Linked DNA regions of Homo sapiens: region 2 is linked to region 1. Evidence: promoter capture Hi-C in human tissues and cell types (Jung and others, 2019). All regions are on one chromosome and are shown on one strand. Each heading gives the region's core, a stretch centred on a gene start or on the middle of the fragment in contact. The rest is flanking DNA. Distances are from core to core; before and after follow the strand shown. Region 1 holds the start of RFPL1 (ret finger protein like 1). Region 2 has its middle 23 kb from the start of NEFH.

The links. The method cuts DNA at HindIII sites, captures the fragments that hold promoters and counts their contacts. A contact is called where the count stands out against the background at its distance.
Region 2: a contact is called between a fragment that was not itself captured here and the fragment with the promoter of RFPL1 in region 1, in 3 of the 25 tissues and cell types used here (lymphoblastoid cells, neural progenitor cells and spleen).

Annotation. Positions count from the first base shown.
Region 1 is chr22:29,436,831-29,439,863 of GRCh38, forward strand. RFPL1 (ret finger protein like 1) reads left to right here and starts at 1,753. Exons shown (of 2, transcript NM_021026.2): 1 at 1,753-2,334. The coding sequence starts at 1,962. RFPL1S (RFPL1 antisense RNA 1) reads right to left here. Exons shown (of 1, transcript NR_002727.2): 1 at 185-3,033. The HindIII fragment of the contact is 25,280 bases long and covers 1-3,033 here.
Region 2 is chr22:29,501,299-29,504,661 of GRCh38, forward strand. No RefSeq gene overlaps it. Among named protein-coding and RNA genes, the nearest start is that of NEFH, 23 kb to the left of the region's middle. The HindIII fragment of the contact is 4,153 bases long and covers 1-3,363 here.

The DNA of each region.
Region 1 (3,033 bases), core at 503-3,002:
TTATTTTTAATTATGCAAAAAGAGAAAATTCCTTTAATATGTGCCAAAGGGAATAGGGAAAATGATAAGATTATATTCAAATTATTTGAAATTTGAAAACAAAGCAGTAAAGATCCCACTACACAGAAAGGCATGAAAATGAAAAGATTCGGGGTTGATTCAAATGGAAGAAAGCACAACTCACTTCACGGGTAACAATTTTTATTTGAGAACACAAGTTTCACAAGAAAATCATCTTTTTTTTTTAAATTGTGACTTTTATCTTAACACTGTGTGAAGTACTCAAGGTCCAAGAAGCTTAATGGTCATTTGTCAAAATAGTAATTATCCAATTTTTTCCTATGAATTATGAAATTTTTTCAAAACCAGAAATAAACCAATGAAAATAAATAAAAATTCCCTAGAATTTCCTCAATGGAATGCATGCCCCTATTACCTTTGAGTCTGATGTATATGAATTTAAACCATTTTGTAAAATTGCAAATCCAATCATACTTAATACTTCAGGTTTCCAAGCAAAGCTTGAAGCCTACAACATATTACAGGAATTATCTTTACTGACAACTGATGGAAACATCTCTAAAATAAGCTTTTGAAGTTAGTACATTAAGCCTAATTTAATATAAAGGCAATTTAATCTTATCTTCATATGAAAGAAAAATACACTGTCAGGATGAAGGATTTACTAAAGTTACAATTAACTGGAGATATATCACCAGTAAAAACCTAATTCCCTGTTATAATTAAATCAAAGCCTCATTAGGTTAGAGGGTGTGGAAGGGCATGACCCAGTGGGAGGTGGGAATCTCACCAATAAAACGCCCTCATGTGCCCCTTCCGCACAAGACCTGAGCGCCCAGTGGAAGCAGCTGGAGGACAGAGGAGCTTCCAGCAGAAGAGGTGAGCCCATGCCTGTGTGTGTGTTTTTCCTCCTTAGATGCCTAGAAATGGGGGTTATGCCTTGGGGGATGAATGAGAGAAATTCGTAATTAATGAATTCAACAAAGGCTGTCTGAGTGCTGCCTCAGAGTTGAAAACCAGTCACCCTGGATCCCCAGATCTCCAGTCTAGGAGTGGTGGCAGTCAATTTGGTATTCATTTCCAAGGCTGGAGAAGGATGTGATTTTTTTTTTTTTTTTTTTGGTGAGACAGGGTCTTAACTCTGTTGTCCAGGTTGGAGTGACCTGGTGTGATCTCTGCTCACTGCTAATTTTTCTATTATTTGTAGAGAGGGGGTCTTCCTGTGTTGCCCAGGCTGATCTCAAACTCCTTGGCTCAAGGGATCTTCCAGCCTTGGCCTCGCAAAGTGCTGGGATTACAGATGTGAGCTACTGCATCCAGTCCCTCTCTTTTTTTTTTTTTTTTTTTTTGAGATGGTGTCTCACTCTGTTGTCCAGGCCGGAGTGCAATGGCTGGATCTTGGCTCACTGCAACCTTTGCCTCCCAGGTTCAAGCAATTCTCCTGCCTCAGCCTCCCAAGTATCTGGGATTACAGGCGTGTGCCACCACGCCTGGCTAATTCTTTTGTATTTTCAGTAGAGATGGGGTTTCACCCATCAGGCTGGTCTCGAACTTTTGACGACCTCAGATGATCCACTCACGTCAGCCTCCCAAAGTGCTGGGATTATAGGCCTGAGCCACCACGCCCGGCCTCCCAGCCCCTAATTCTTATGTTCATCAATCAATCTCTTGCTGGGGTTCCCCTAGGAGGAGGTGAAATGACCCCAGCTCGCTGTTCCTCACATGGGTGCTGCCGTGTCACTGGCTCAGGCTCAGTTGCTGGGTCACCAGTAGAATGGACCCTTCCTCCACCTCAGTTCAGAGCACAGTGATGATTCGTGACTTTCTTTCCCAATAGAACTTCAAATCTCTGAAGACGGGGGGTGGGGGGATGTGCTTGAGTGTTTGTACTCATGGTCTTGTTCTAGAAGTGACAAAGCTGGGACACAATACCTTTATGCATGAAAAGGTTGTCACTTGTCACAACTAACAGGCTTTCACCTCACGGAAATTTTCTTCCCTTGTGCACTTTTCCCCTGGCAGTGGACATGGCTGCACTCTTCCAAGAAGCAAGCAGCTGTCCCGTCTGCTCAGACTATCTAGAGAAACCAATGTCCCTGGAGTGTGGATGCGCTGTCTGCTTCAAGTGCATCAATTCACTGCAGAAGGAGCCCCATGGGGAGGATCTACTTTGCTGTTGCTGTTCCATGGTCTCTCAGAAGAACAAAATCAGGCCCAGTTGGCAGCTAGAGAGGCTGGCTTCCCACATCAAGGAACTGGAGCCCAAGCTGAAGAAGATTCTGCAGATGAACCCAAGGATGCGGAAGTTCCAAGGTGAGGGATCTGTATACACTGCCCCCTTCCTACGACCAGACCAGGAAAAATCATCTGTGCAACTGGCCCCTCATTCCATATGGGGATTAGCTGCTGTCTGGCACCTAAAATTGAGATGCTTCTTCATCATCAGATTCTCAGCCCTGACAACATACAGAATCACCTGGTGATCTCCAAAAAAAAGGCTGGCTGGGCATGGTGGCTCATGCCTGTAATGTCAGCACTTTGGGAGGCCGAGGCGGGTGGATCACGAGGTCAGGAGATCGGGACCATCCTGGATAACACGGTGAAACCCTGTCTCTACTAAAAATACAAAAAATTAGCCAGGCTTGGTGGTGGGTGCCTGTAGTCCCAGCTACTTGGGGGTTGAGGCAGGAGAATGGCGTTAACCTGGGGGGGGCGGAGCTTGCAGTGAGCCAAGATTGCACCACTGCACTCCAGCCTGGGTGACAGAGTGAGACTCCGTCTCAAAAAAAAAAACCTGATGTCTATGTCATGGGTTAGACAAGGGATTCTCTAAACTTAGTGTGCTCAGATTACCTGGGGATCTTGTTAAAATGCAGATGCTGAACTGGGAAGTCTCAGGATTGATCCCGCTGGCTTGGGGACTTTGCTGAGTAGCAAAAACACAGAGCAACTTAATTTGAATTTCTCTCTAGCAAAGGTTCCCAGGACTCTGACATTTAAATGGGCCTGGTA
Region 2 (3,363 bases), core at 179-2,678, 64 kb after region 1:
AAGGCAGGTGGATCACAAGGTCAGGAGATCAAGACCAGCCTGGCCAACACGGTGAAACCCCGTCTCTACTAAAAATACAAAAATTAGCCAGGCATGGTGGCACGTGCCTGTAATCCCAACTACTTGGGAGGCTGAGGCAGAAGAATCGCTTGAACCTAGGAGGCGGAGGTTGCAGTGAGCCAAGGTCACTCCATTACACTCTAGCCTGGACAACAAGAGTGAAACTGTCTCAAAAAAAAAAAAAAAAAATTCAGTCTGGGCGCAGTGGCTCATGCCTGTAATCCCAGCACTTTGGGAGGCCAAGGTGGGCGGATCACAAGGTCAAGACCATCCTGGCCAACATGGGGAAACCCCATCTCTACTAAAAATACAAAAATTAGCTGGGTGTGGTGGCACGCGCCTGTAATCCCAGCTACTCGGGGGGCTGAGGCAGGAGAATCGCTTGAACCCGGGAGACGGAGGTTGCAGTGAGCTGAGTTTGTGCCACTGCACAATCCAGCCTGGCGACAGTGGGAGACTTCATCTCAAAAAAAATAAATAAATAAAATAAATAAATAAATAGCAAGCAAAAATTAGCCAGGCATGGTGGGGCGAGTACTTCTAGTCCCAGTTACTCGGGAGGCTGAAGCAGGAGAATCGCTTGAACCTGGGAGGCAGAGGTTGCAGTGAGCCAAGACTGCACCACTGCACTCCAGCTTGGGCGACAGAGTGAGACTCTGTCTCAAAAAAAAAAAAAGAAAAGAAAAGAAAAGAAAATCGGCTGGGCGCAGTGGCTCACGCCTGTAATCCCAGCACTTTGGGAGGCTGAGGCAGGTGGATCATGAGGTCAGGAGATCGAGACCATCCTGGCTAACACGGTGAAACTGTCTCTATTGAAAATACAAAAAATTAGCCGGGCATGGTAGCGGGCGTCTGTAGTCCCAGCTACTCGGGAGGCTGAGGCAGGAGAATGGAGTGAACCCGGGAGGCGGAGCGTGCAGTGAGCCGAGATAGCGCCACTGAGTCCAGCCTGGGTGAAAGAGCGAGAATCCGTCTCAAAAAAAAAAAAAGGAAAGAAAATCAATTAATGTAGTACACTACCTTGCCTTAAAGAATGAAGGGGAGCTGGGCACGATGGCTCACACCTGTATTTCCAGGTACATGGGAGGCTGAGGTGGGAGAATTGCTTGAGCCCTGGAGTTGAAGGCTGCAGTGAGCTTTGATTGCACCACTGCACTCCAGCCTGGGTGACAGAGCAAAACCCTGTATCTAAAACAAAAAACACAAAACCAATGGTGAAAAGCTGAAAGCTTTTCCCCTAAGATCAGGAACAAGACAGAGATGCCCACTTTCACAGTTGTATTCAACACAGTACTGGCAGTCCTAGCCAGAGAAATTAGGCAAGAAAAAGAAAAGGCATCCAAATTGGAAAGGAAGAAATAGAACGATCTCTATTTGCAGATGACATTATCACATATATAGAAAATCCCAAATAATCCACAGTAAACCCTTTTATTTATTTATTTATTTAGAGACCAAGGTCTCACTTTGTCCCCAAGACTGGAGTGCACCTGTGTGATCATAGCTCACTGTAGCTTCCAACTTCTGGGCTCATGTGATCCTCCTGCCTTTGCCTTCTGAGTAGCTGGGACTACAATTATGCGCCACCATGCCTGGCTAATTTTTAAATCTTATTTTTGTATAGACAGGGCTTCACTATATTGCCCAGACTGGCAGAAAAGTTTTTTTTAATTACTAGAGTTAATAAATGAATTCAGTAAAGCAGCAGGGGACAAAGTCAACACACAAAGAACAATTGTATGTCTACTCACCAACAATGAACAATCAGAAAAAGAAATTAAGAAAATAATTCTATTTATAATAGTATCAAAAATAATAAAATACCTAGGGATAAATTTAACCAAGGAGGCAAAAGACTTATACACTAAGTTTCATTTAAATAGGACAGTGAATGTAAAAGTGTGATTAGCACAGGGCCTGACCCAAAATAGATGCTTAATGCCTATTCTCATCAGAGACACTGCTGAACGCCATAGAAAGGACAGAGTCGGCTACACCGACAGGGACAAAGTTCCTTTGGAAGTCTGGCAGCCCTGCTCCTTCCTAGGGATAGAGTTTTGCTTAGCTTTGCGGAGTGATCAGCAAGAACACCCTTAAGTTTATGAAAAGAGTCTGTGGAGTTATTTGCAGAGAAAATAGTAAGGGATAAGCTAGGAAGAAAATAAGGGAGAAACTAGAAGATACCAATAAATCAGGAATGTGGACGGCAGCTTTAAAAAGGCAAGGAACAGGCCTGACATGGTGGGTTCACGCCTGTAATCCTAGCACTTTGGGAGGCCGAGGTGGGAAGATTGCTTGAGGCCAGGAGTTCAAGACTAGCCTGGGCAACATAGCAAGACCTTGTCTCTACAAAAGAAAAAAAAATGTTTTAAAAAAATTGTAAAGGGGAAAAAAAAAAAAGCAAGGAACACAGGCTGAGTCCCAGGTACAAGAGAGCGACAGATGGGCTGCGGTCTGCGATATGCCCCAGAGTATAATCTGCCAAAAGTCCGTGGACAATTCCAGCTGAGGAGGAAGCTTCTAGGTCCTCCCAAGCCAGTCCCTTTCCCCCTAATCTGCCCACCCTTGGCATGAATGGCTAAGTAGCTCACAGGGGAGGGATTGACCTGGGCTTCTCGCTTGTTTTAAAATCCTCCTTAAAGCCAAGGGATTCTTTTGTTCAGTCTGCTTCTCTGGAAAGGGAAAATCTCTTCTGGAGGGTGACAGGCTCTGATATCCCCTGTCTAAGAAGCAAAGCCTCTTCCCAGCCCTCACAAGCCCTCTTTGAAATCTTGTCCCGGCTTCTGGAGATGAGCTTTTGTGCTGAGTCAGTTTGGCTGCCTTCCAGCCAAGAACAGAGAAGTGCAGGCTGCAATGCAGGGGCCATTAAACTATTTTTAGGCTCTATTTCAATCTTATTCAGCACAGGCGGTGAGACACAAGGCCTGAAGGTGGACAGACCAGGGGGATGCCGCCTGGGACAAAGTCCCAGGCAAGTAGGTCAGGGAAAAGACAAGGAGATCTCGCTATGTGGAGAGAAATACTTAGCCAGGCGCGGTGGCTCACGCCTGTAATCCTAGCACTTTGGGAGGCCGAAGCGGGCAGATCACGAGGTCAGGAGATCGAGACCATCCTGGTTAACATGGTGAAACCCCATCTCTACTAAAAATATAAAAAATTAGCATGGTGGTGGGCGCCTGTAATCCCAGCTACTCAGAAGGCTGAGGCAGGAGAATTGCGTGAACCCGGGAGGCTGAGGTTGCAGTGAGCCGAGATCATGCCACTGCACTCCAGCCTGGGCAACAGAGCGAGACTCCGTCTCAA